Regions from separate parts of the Homo sapiens genome. Here all the other regions are linked to region 1. Evidence: promoter capture Hi-C in human tissues and cell types (Jung and others, 2019). All regions are on one chromosome and are shown on one strand. The core of a region is centred on a gene start or on the middle of the fragment in contact, and the rest is flanking DNA. Distances in the headings are between cores, read along the strand shown. Region 1 holds the start of GPR156 (G protein-coupled receptor 156). Region 2 has its middle 27 kb from the start of LRRC58. Region 3 overlaps LRRC58 (leucine rich repeat containing 58).

What was found. Contacts are between HindIII fragments. The study calls those that stand out against the background at their distance.
Region 2: a contact is called between a fragment that was not itself captured here and the fragment with the promoter of GPR156 in region 1, in 1 of the 25 tissues and cell types used here (mesendoderm cells).
Region 3: a fragment that was not itself captured here is called in contact with the fragment with the promoter of GPR156 in region 1 in 1 of the 25 tissues and cell types used here (bladder).

Annotation. Positions count from the first base shown.
Region 1 is chr3:120,283,477-120,286,884 of GRCh38, reverse strand. It overlaps GPR156 (G protein-coupled receptor 156), which reads left to right and starts at 1,663. Exons shown (of 10, transcript NM_153002.3): 1 at 1,663-1,856. LOC124909418 (a long non-coding RNA gene) reads right to left here and starts at 1,729. Exons shown (of 2, transcript XR_007096029.1): 1 at 1-1,729. The HindIII fragment of the contact is 13,353 bases long and covers 1-3,408 here.
Region 2 is chr3:120,321,035-120,324,481 of GRCh38, reverse strand. No RefSeq gene overlaps it. Among named protein-coding and RNA genes, the nearest start is that of LRRC58, 27 kb to the left of the region's middle. The HindIII fragment of the contact is 7,195 bases long and covers 1-3,447 here.
Region 3 is chr3:120,343,098-120,346,824 of GRCh38, reverse strand. All of the region lies in intron 1 of LRRC58 (leucine rich repeat containing 58), which reads left to right. Among named protein-coding and RNA genes, the nearest start is that of LRRC58, 4.4 kb to the left of the region's middle. The HindIII fragment of the contact is 4,219 bases long and covers 1-3,727 here.

The sequences.
Region 1 (3,408 bases), core at 414-2,913:
ATTACAATTGCACAGGAAAGTTACTGCAGGTTTGGGAGTGGGACAGAGGATAGAGGATGTTGGCTTGTTTTGTCAAGAGAGTGACATTCTTAAGTCTATGTTGGTGGTGGGGACAGATAGGAGGCAAGAAAATCAGTTAGGAAATTATTGAAACAATTCAGCCCCAGATAATCGAAGCTTATCAAGAGCAGCAGTGTGAGAATGCAGAGAAGTGGACAGTTGCCAGAAACATCTCAGAGGTAAACATGGCAGGCCTGGAAGATGAAAACCTTCAGTGCCTGGCAACTGAGGGGTTGGAAATACTCCAATCTCAGAAAAGAGAATACTGGGATTGGAGGTGGGGGCCAAGCTGGGAGAAAGATTTCAATGTCTTGCAGAATATAGAGAGGGGTTGATGAGAATAACAGCCGAAGAGCCCAGGGGAATTCCCAGGTTAAAAAAAAAAAGCCCCACAGAGATCAGAAGGGCAAATCCTCAATCTAGAGCCACAGAAGTGAAGATTTGGCTCTAGACTCTGAAGTCAGCTCTCCTACGGAAAAAAGATGGACCCAGGCCTTTTTAACTCAGGCAGCCCCCATGGAGGAGAGAGATGGTCCTCCTCAGTTTCTGCACGTTCCAAATGAAAGGGTCCTTCTGTGTAGAATGAGAGATCTGGAGAGTCCTGGGTAAAATCTCAGACATAATTCTTTCTTCTGAGAAACCAGCTTTTTGCTTACTGCCTTGAGGAAAACCTTGTCTATCTTTCTTTCTTCCTCTTGTTTTCCCCCTCAGTAGAATCCTGTGAAAAGAAGTCTTTGGGTATCACAATGTGTAAAACAGTTAAGAATGTAGCCACTGTCTTGTCACAGTGGGGTCTGCGGACCTGGCCTCTCTCTTCCCGTCCTCTACAACCAAAGATTTCCTCTGCGCAGTTGTAAAAATGTGGAATGTCCTAATGCACATAAATAGGTCTGAGATTTTAAAATAAATGAAACAAATATAATATGGAAAGTCTAAGTGGATTCCCAAGACCATTTCCAGGTCTCCCCTCTATGTTTCTCCTTGAGGGTGTCTTAAACACAACATCTCACACATATTTTTAAGCGGAAGACAGTGGGCTGGGTGCGAACATCTTGTTTGTGGCCTCCTGTAAGCATTCTTGGAAAAAGAAACGTACTTGTCTTTCTGATTATAAAATAAGCAAAAGCTCAACGTAAAGAATTTGGCAACTCCAGAGAGTATAAAATAAGAAAACTAATTGGTAACTCCGACGCCACTCCAGAAATAAAAATGAGCATTCGCGGAGAATCCTTCCAGTCTCCTTACCGAGGCCGGCTAGGGACCTGAATCTGAAGCTCCTCGCCCCGGGGCCAGCTCCTGCGGCAGCCGCTGGCTCGAGGCCCGGGAAGGGGCGCTGAGGGGAAGGCGCCCCCCAGGGAAGGTCTCTGAGGAGACGGCCGGAGGCGGGGCCGCCCCAGGGGACTCGGCGGCGACGCAAGGAGAAAGATCCGAGGAGCTGGAGGAGCCGTGAGGCGCGTGGAGTCTGCAAGGTCCCGGAGCCCTCCCGGCCCTCGCGGGAGAGCAGGGTCGAGGCGCGCCACGCGGGCGGCGCCAGGGAGGGGCGGGCAGGCGTGGCTCAGCCAGTGCCCCGGCCAGAGGCGCCCGGCGCCCCGCGCACACCTCAGAGGCCTGCGCCGCCGTCCCGCCGCCTCCACGCCAGGCTCCCGGCGCGGCGATGGGCGCGGGCCCCTGTCTCTGCCCCGGCCCGCCCCTTCCCGCCCCTTCCAGCCCCGCGAACGCGCGAGACGCCGGGGGACCGTGGGCGTCCTGCACATAGCAGCGGGCTTGGCGCTTCTCGGCGGTCCGACGCTGATGAGGTGAGCACAGCGACCTTAAGGATCCACAAAACTTCAAACACTTAATTATTAAGTGAAAGTGGAAAGGGGGAGGGGCTTTCTCTCCCTTTCCAGAATCTGGGCAGTTTGTTTGGAACCGGTAAAGAAACTCTCATAGGAACTTGAGGTGAGCAGGGGTCACGCATCAGGGATGCGAGTGGCAATTTCAGTGGAAGAGACGGGAGAGTACTGTAATTTGGTGTGAAGATGGGGCCGTGGGTTTTCTGCTGAATAAGCGACCGGCTGTGCTGAAAATGAGAGATCCCGAAACAGTTTCCCACCGCCTGTAGACTTTCCAGAGTCTCCTCACGCCGAATCTGCTTTGCAGGGCATGTTCACCCCCAGGGTGTAGAGTGGCGGGCACGATGGGCTCCCCCATGGAGATTGCAAAGTCCTGAAAAGGGACAATTGTATTGCACTGCGTCTGTTGAACTGCCTTGCTTCTGGGCATGAGGGAGTCACCTGGAAGCTGCAACATCCTTGTACCCTGGCAAGCAGCCCTTTCCAAGTTAGCTCTGTCAGAAACTAGAGGCCTCTAGGTAGAACTCAAGGTATCCATGTACTCGTGAAGAATACAAACCTTGAGGTTTTTAAAATCGAATTTTGTTAAGATTTCAGGATAGAAATCTGGGAAGAGAAGTCATGGCATGGCATAACTTACCCCTTTGTTAGTTTTCTAGGTACATGCATGCTTGAATTAGAGGTAAATGATGCCCTAGCCTATCATAAAATGTCTTTCCTGGTGTAGTTCTTTAAACCAGAATATGGAGGATAACATTACATTTTTGCATCCTAGATAAAAGGGAAAGATTTTCAGATGGGGCTTACACAGCGGGAGAAATTGTTGATATAGTTGTATTAGGCAGCAAGGCCTGCAAAGAAAAACTTCTTTTTCTCCACCAGTGGCTGAATTCTGCACAGAATGTCTCCTCGCAGTCTGGGTAGCAGCCCGGCTTGCAAAAACAGTGCTTCTTTCATTGCTGCAGGTGGGGCAAATGCGCTTGCGGATAAATGGCTGGGGAAGCGTTTGCTTACAGGTTAAGGCAATTTGAGTCTGGAGAATAAAGTGCTTTAGCAGGCTGTGCTTGAGTTAGGTGTCCCTTGTGAGGAATAGAGGTGGCTTTCTGGTCCCCATTTTGCCAGCCTAATTCCCCTTCAGGGACACTACTGTCTCTGGAATGTTCCCTCTGTTTCCCCTTCTCTTCCACCCCCAGCTTTTAGCTTCTCCCCATTCCCCAGTAAAGTCTAGAATTGAGCCTGGTCAGAGTCAAAGTTCTGATAGCCTAGGGATATAGAACTTCAAGCCTGGTGAAGGCAGAAATGAGACCTAGGAGAGACCCAAGATGGGTGAGATGAAACAACTTTCAGCCTAGAAGGCTCTCAAAAGAGTGGAAAAATAATGATTGAGGGAAACAGATTCTCTGGAAAGGAGAATAGGTGCTTAAGTGTTTGTTTTCAGCTGAGGGTTTTAATATTTCCATTTTTGTTGTTTAACCATAAGGGAATTTCCATTATAGGGTAGGAGGAGGATGAG
Region 2 (3,447 bases), core at 884-3,383, 37 kb before region 1:
ATAAATTGGACTTGTCTTCTAGTCTTCCTTCTGCTTCCACAGTCTCAATAGACTTACGGGTGCATGCTCTAATAAGAAATTGGTGACATCATCTTGCTGACTAAGGCCAGTTACTTCTTGTATTTAGTACAGAATCACACAGTCTTAACCCACAGTAATATAGTTCTAACTGAGCTCATTGACATAGCACTTCATACCAATATTTTATAGTGCCATTATTTTGGCACCTGACATTTTTCTAGATTCCAGGATATGGAAAAATATTGTGGTTTTAAGTTGGGGTAAACAGAGTGGATAGGAAGGACATGTACTTTGCAAAACAGCTAATGTTTCAAATGTGCTAAGATGGAAGAAACTCAGCACTTCCCTGGTTAATATATAGGATGGTGATATGGTTTGGCTGTGTTGCCACCCAAATCTCATCTTGAATTGTAGCACCCATAATCCCCACGTGTCATGGGAGGGACCCAGTGGGAGGTAATTGAATCATGGGGCGGGTTTTCCCATGCTATTCTTGTGATAGTGAGTAAGTCTCAGGAGATTTACTCACTAGGGCAGTTCTCCTGCACAAGCCTGCTGCCACTTAAGATGTGCCTTTCCTCCTTTGCCCTCCACCGTGATTGTGAGGCCTCCCCAGCCATGTGGAATTGTAAGTCCATTAAGCCTTTTTCTTTATAAATTACCCAGTCTCGGATATTTCTTCATAGCAGTATGAAAATGGGCTAATACAGATGACTGCTTGGCAAAGACAGGCCCAAAAAATTTGAGGGAGAAGAGAAAACACATAGAGTGTATGTGTTTGATACCCTCTATGTGTTTGTCTGATCTCTTTCCTTTTTTTTGAGATGGAGTTTCACTCTTGTTGCCCAGGCTGGAGTGCAATGGTGCAATCTTGGCTCACTGCAACCTCTGCCTCCCAGGTTCAAGTGATTCTCCTGCCTCAGCCTCCTGAGTAGCTGGGATTACAGGCGTGCACCACCATGCCCAGCTAATGTTGTATTTTTAGTAGAGACGGGGTTTCTTTATGTTGGTCAGGCTGGTCTCGAGCTCCCGACCTCAGGTGATCCGCCCACCTCGGCCTCCCAAAGTGCTAGGATTACAGGTGTGAGCCACCGCACCTGGCCTCTCTTTCGTTTTTTTGTTTTTTGTTTTTTTTTTTTTTGAAATGGAGTCTCACTCTGTCACCAGGCTGAGTACAGTGGCGCAATCTCGGCTCACTGCAACCTCCGCCTCCCAGGTTCAAGCGATTCTCCTGCCTCAGCTTCCCAAGTAGCTGGGACTGCAGGCGCGTGCCACTGTGCCCAGCTAATTTTTGTATTTTTAATAGAAACGGGGTTTCATCACGTTGGCCAGGATGGTCTCGATTCCTGACCTCGTGATCTGCCCACCTCTGCCTCCCAAAGTGCTGGGATTACAGGCGTGAGCCACTGTACCCGGCCTCCTTTCTTAAAGGTAAAACCGTTCTCTAATCCACCTAGTCTCCATAGCATTAGTGCCACAAGAACATTTTACTCTTAAATGACTTGTCTAATTCTTTGCAGATACCAAATATAAAGCCAGAACATTTCTGGGGATATGTATGACGGGCATGTTCCATCCATCACACCAGTCACTTCCAGCTTCATGAACAATCTGTCAGAATCCCGTAGAATATTAGAGCTAGAAGAAACTTTAGAAATCTGAAATTGACACACTTGTTTGAAAAATGAAAAAAATTCAAATCGAAAGAAACTTTTTCTAGAATCCATATGGCTGAATCTTGAATCCAGGCTTTCAGATTACCGCTTCAAGACTTGTTTCTGGCCAGGCGTGGTGGCTCACGCCTATAATCCCACCACTTTGGGAGGCCAAGGTGAGTAGATCACGAGGTCAGGATTTCGAGACCAGCCTGGCCAACATGGTGAAACCCTTGCTCTACTAAAACTATAAAAAAATTAGCCGGGCATGGTGGCAGGTGCCCATAATCCCAGCTACTCAGAAGGCTGAGGCAGGAGAATTGCTTTAACCCAGGGGGCAGAGGTTGCAGTGAGCTTGTATCAAGCCACTGCACTCCAGCCTGGGTGACAGAGCAAGACTCCATCTCAAAAAAAAAAAAAAAAAGACTTGATTCTGCTATAGGATGCTGCTTCCTTTGTTTAATATGCTGTAACAGGAAATCAGTAACAGTATTAGTACTCCACAATAACAGGCCTACTAGTATTGAAGTGATGCGATCTGCACTATATCTCAATGTATTCAGAATTTTAGATCTGGTGATGACTTTAAGAGTAAACAGCTGGGTACCTCTTTAAAGCACATTCAAGAGGCTATCTTATTTAATCGTCATGACACTGCTGAGGTAGATTTGGTGACGTACGTTCATGTGGTTTATCAAAGCCTTCCCCCTTCCTTCTGCCGTTTGAAATCAACTAAGAAATTGACATTGACCTGAGATAGGGAACAAAATACCAGCTCTATCAAATCAGAATTGAGCTGCTTATATTCTTTCCCTTAATTAAATTGAATGTAACCAACCAAAATCACAGGCTTCCCCTGCGAGGACTGAGTCTACCCCTGGATAGTATTCTATACTACTGCCCAGAACATACCACTTTGGGCAGACAGATCCAAAGGAGCACAGGTAAATTCTTAAACCCCTTAGTGCTGCCCAGTAGAGAAACTAGACCAATTATCTTCAGTCTTCGGCCATCTAAGCAGATGAATTAAGTCTTTATCCCACAGGGAGGAAAAAGATGTTGGAAAGTGTTTCCTCTGGGCAGCTATTTTCAAACCTTGCTGAACAGTAGAATCACCAGAAAAGCTTTCAAAATATACAGATACAAAGACACCATCCCCAGACCAATTGAAACTTGATCTCTAAAGATAGAGTCTTGGCATCCGTAGTTGTAGAAGCTCTTGTAGGTGACTTGGTTTCCCAGTGAGGGTGATAATCAGTGTTTTAGTGAAAGTCCCTTTATGGTAACTTGAGGTCAATGGAGTAGAGTTTTTCTTAATAGATAAATGGGACCAAAGTGATGAAGTGACTTGCTCAAGTTCTCTTAGATGTTGCTGTGGCTAAAATTTATTCATCTGTACCCCCAATTTTTTTTAATTGAATGCATACTTCAGACCAGGCACTGACTGCTAATCCAATGTTTTTTGCTTCTCCCTGTCAGTCACTTTTCTTCTGAACTGGAAGTGTTTTGAGGGTATATGATGTTACATTCAAATGGATTGGCCATTTTGAAGCCAGTTACAACTAAGGCAGAGTGTTCACCAAATTGTGGAAAACAAAAGCAGCAAACAGATCAACTTGACCAGAAACATTCGTGAAAGAAAGACTTGGTCAAATATTTCAGGTTATGGCCACAGGCAGGAGACAACCTTTCCATCTATGAGGAAACCCTTGTCAAGTTGTACACTGGTTTTATTGATCACAGATAAACACATAGCTAACATCATAAACAA
Region 3 (3,727 bases), core at 613-3,112, 60 kb before region 1:
GAGATTTTGAGGGCTGGTTTGAAGGAGGTCATTGTAATAGGATGAGAGATGATGGTAGCCTATACCAGCTTGATACTAGGAGAAATGCTAAGAAATGGAAGATTTCGAGAAAAGATTTAGAGGTAAAATTGACAGCCCTTGGTTCCTTCTAATTTTAATGTTGCATAATTCCAGCCTTGGAATTTTCTTAATATACTAACAGGAACCCAGGGAAAGTATTATTTCCATCACATGGGGAGAAAAGTAGGCAAAAATCCCATTTATTTAATACTTACAATGCAGTAGATCCTGTCATAGGTGCTAACTATGCTTTTTAATACTCACAATGATGCCATAAGATGATGTGCTCCCATTTTTCAGAGGCAGAAACTGAAGCTCAGAGAAATTAAGTCATAAGATTACAAGGCTAGTAAGCATTGGAACTGTATTTGACCTCTGTGGTCTGTGACTCCAAACCCTTGAGTTCTGCACAGTGGCAGAGTACTAGAACCTGAATCTTTGTTGGGGGGTTGGAGGGTCATGGTTTTTTGCTTGTTTTTGTTTTTTGTTTTTTGTTTTCTGTTTTTTTGAGATGGAGTTTCACTCTGTTGCCCAGGCTGGAGTGCAGTGGCATGATCTGGGCTCACTGCAATCTCCGCCTCCTGGGTTCAAGTGATGCTCTTGCCTCAGCCTCCCAAGTATCTGCGACCACAGGAGCGTGCCATCACGCCAGCTAATTTTTGTACTTTTAGTAGAGACAAAGTTTCACCATGTTGGCCAGGCCAGGCTGGTCTCAAACTTCTGACCTCAAGTGATCCACCCACCTCTGCCTCCCAAAGTGTTGGGATTACAGGCGTGAGGCACTGCACCCAGCCTAGAACTTGACTTCTGTACTGTTGGATTTGTGATCAGGAGGATTTGTCAAAGTCATTCACATAGTTGACTGATCTTCTGACTCAGTTTTCTGGGCTAACAACCGTGCTATCTGTGTTTATTGTTCATTGTGTCTTTGACACCAATAATGTATGATATCTTTAACGTCACTGTTTTCATTTTTCACTTGCGTGCCTTATTTCTCGTTACTGCTAAGAATCGGTAAAGGTTTAGGCTATGCTCCACATATAAACTCTGATTGTAGGTTAAAAGGGTTGTGTAGAAATATACTCTGAGCTAGAAAAAGCCTTGGCAGTGACCCGATTCATCCCCTTCTATTTACAGATGAGGAAACTTAGATTTATTATCAGTGATTTACTTGAGGCGAGATAGTGACAAGTGAGAGTTATGTGGTTCAGCCTTCAAACACTGCTAACTATTCACTACTAATATGATGCATTAAAGCTTCAAAAATGTAGAGGTGGAGGTTTAGTCTCTTAAACTACCTGTCCAAGAACACCATCTTCTCTTAGAAAATACCTGGATCCTCTAGACTTCATTGGTTACCCTGATTTATATTGATACTATGTATGCCATGCTGCTTTTTAAACCAGATCTAGTGTTTTGGCACATTAAGAAGATATGTGTCCTCTGTAAGAGCAATTATTAAAATAGTACAGACTATATAATCCATGAAAACTCCCCCACTCCTTCCACTCTTCATCATTTAAGGAAGGAATAACAAATGAATACTTATGGCTTAATTGGTGTCATTGACCTCTCCAGATTTAGCAAGATATCTATGTTTTCTATACCCTATTAATTCTTTCCCCTAGTGGCAAAATCTTTTTTTTTTTAACGTTTTCTGAAGCATCACTTTCAAAGTATAACAAATAAGTAGATGCTGAAAATCTTACTTATTTTTATGATTAACTTCCTTCCCCTCGAGTAAATTAGGTTATCAATGTGAACCATGCGGTTGTGGATGTAGTTACTTTCCATCAAAATGTGGTTATTCTTCAGCAAATAAGTGTAATTGTTTGGCTATAGTATATGGGCAAAATTTTTTTTGTTACATAATGCTGAAAAAGTAGGTATAATTCATATTCTGACTTATTTTTCTGAATCATACCTTTTATTCTTCTCAGTTAGGTTAGATATTAATTGAGGAAGAGCTTAATAGCTTATCACTCAATGGCCAATAGACTTTATTTAAGTAAACAAAAGCTTCTGGATTGTTTGGCAAATCCAGTATGCTAGATATTTGGAGAGTAGGTTTGAGCACAACTGAGTTTCATTGGTACTCTTCTACAATCTTTTCTTCTTAAGTAATGCCTTCCTTTTTCTGTTCATGATGCCTCTCACCATCTGTTTGATGTGGTTTTGAAAGATTGAGATAGGAGGGTGTGACAAAACAAAAGCTAAAAGTTAATGCTCTCAAATGTTTTGAAGTTAGTGTACAGTAGGTTGATATGTTAGAAAGGAGACAGATGACTCAACCAGATGATAGAATGCAGTAAAGTTTAAATGAAAATGCTTTTCCACATTTAGAGTCACATACTGAGCTTGTCACTGGCTCTCAACATCGTCCCTCTGACTTTTTTTATTGCCTTAATTTGGGGCAAGTGTCAAGAGATGATGCATCTATTTGTATGTCTACTTTTGAACATATAGGTACCTTATAATCCTGTGGTGTATGTTAGTATTTGTCATTTAATACAAAGATGCTACTTCAAGAAAACTTTCTTTATCCACAGATGTTCTTATCTTTCTGTTTCTTTTCCTTTCTGTTTTCTACTTCTTTGTACATTCCTATCTTACTTTAATTCCATCTCCTTTTAACCAACCATATAAGATAGGATTAATGTATTTTTGTTGTTGTTGTTGTTTGGGGGTTTTTTTTTGTTTTTGTTTGTTTGTTTATTTGTTTTTTGGAGTCAGAGTCTCGCCCTGTCCACCAAGCTGGAGTGCAGCGGCACGATCTCACCTCACTGCAGCCTCTGCCTCCCAGGTTCAGGTGATTCTCCTGCCTCAGCCTCCCAAGTAGCTGGGATTACAGGCACCTGCCACCACACCAGGCTAATTTTTTTTTAAATTTTATTTTCAGTAGAGACGGGGTTTCACCATGTTGGCCAGGCTGGTCTCGAACTCCTGACCTCAAGTGATCCGCCTGCCTCAGCTTCCGAAAGTGCTGGGATTAGAGACGTGAACCACTGTGCCCAGCTTAACGTATATTTTTATGATGTTCGGTGTCAGTTTTATTTGATTGGAGAAGCAGAAAGCATTTTCTACTTTTACTTGTGCTAGCCTGTTTTTTCAGTGGGTCATTTGTACTTGATAAGAGAAAAGGCATCCACTGCAGTATCCCTAAGGATTGGAAACGTGATTCATTTTTCAAGAGACAATTTTAAGGTCAATATATTAATGCTAAACAGGAAAGGAATAATTTGTTCCATAAATTTAGTGAGTACTTTTCTTGTTTTCTGTATTCCTCAAATACTGAAAGAATAGAATTGTTCCAACCCTAATTAACAGAGTTGCAATGTTGATAACCACAAGAACTTAAACCCTACAGTTTTGCTACAAATTCAACAACAGTTTCCTTTCTTCTTAAAAAAAAGTGTATTCAGAAACAGTAGAGTGTGTTATAGAAATTTAATTCCCACAAATCATCGAAAGATGTCAAGTCCCTAGAAATTTGGAAATTATTTGAGTTAGAAAGTAAAAAATAAGCCTGAAACTGTAAATTTAATATGATGGTTATGTAATTTGATTAGTGTTATTCATCAATTGCAAAAGAGAATTTACATAATTGCAAAATCATGGCCTTAGTTATATTTTAGAACGTCAGATCCTTTTCTGCCACAGTCAAGGT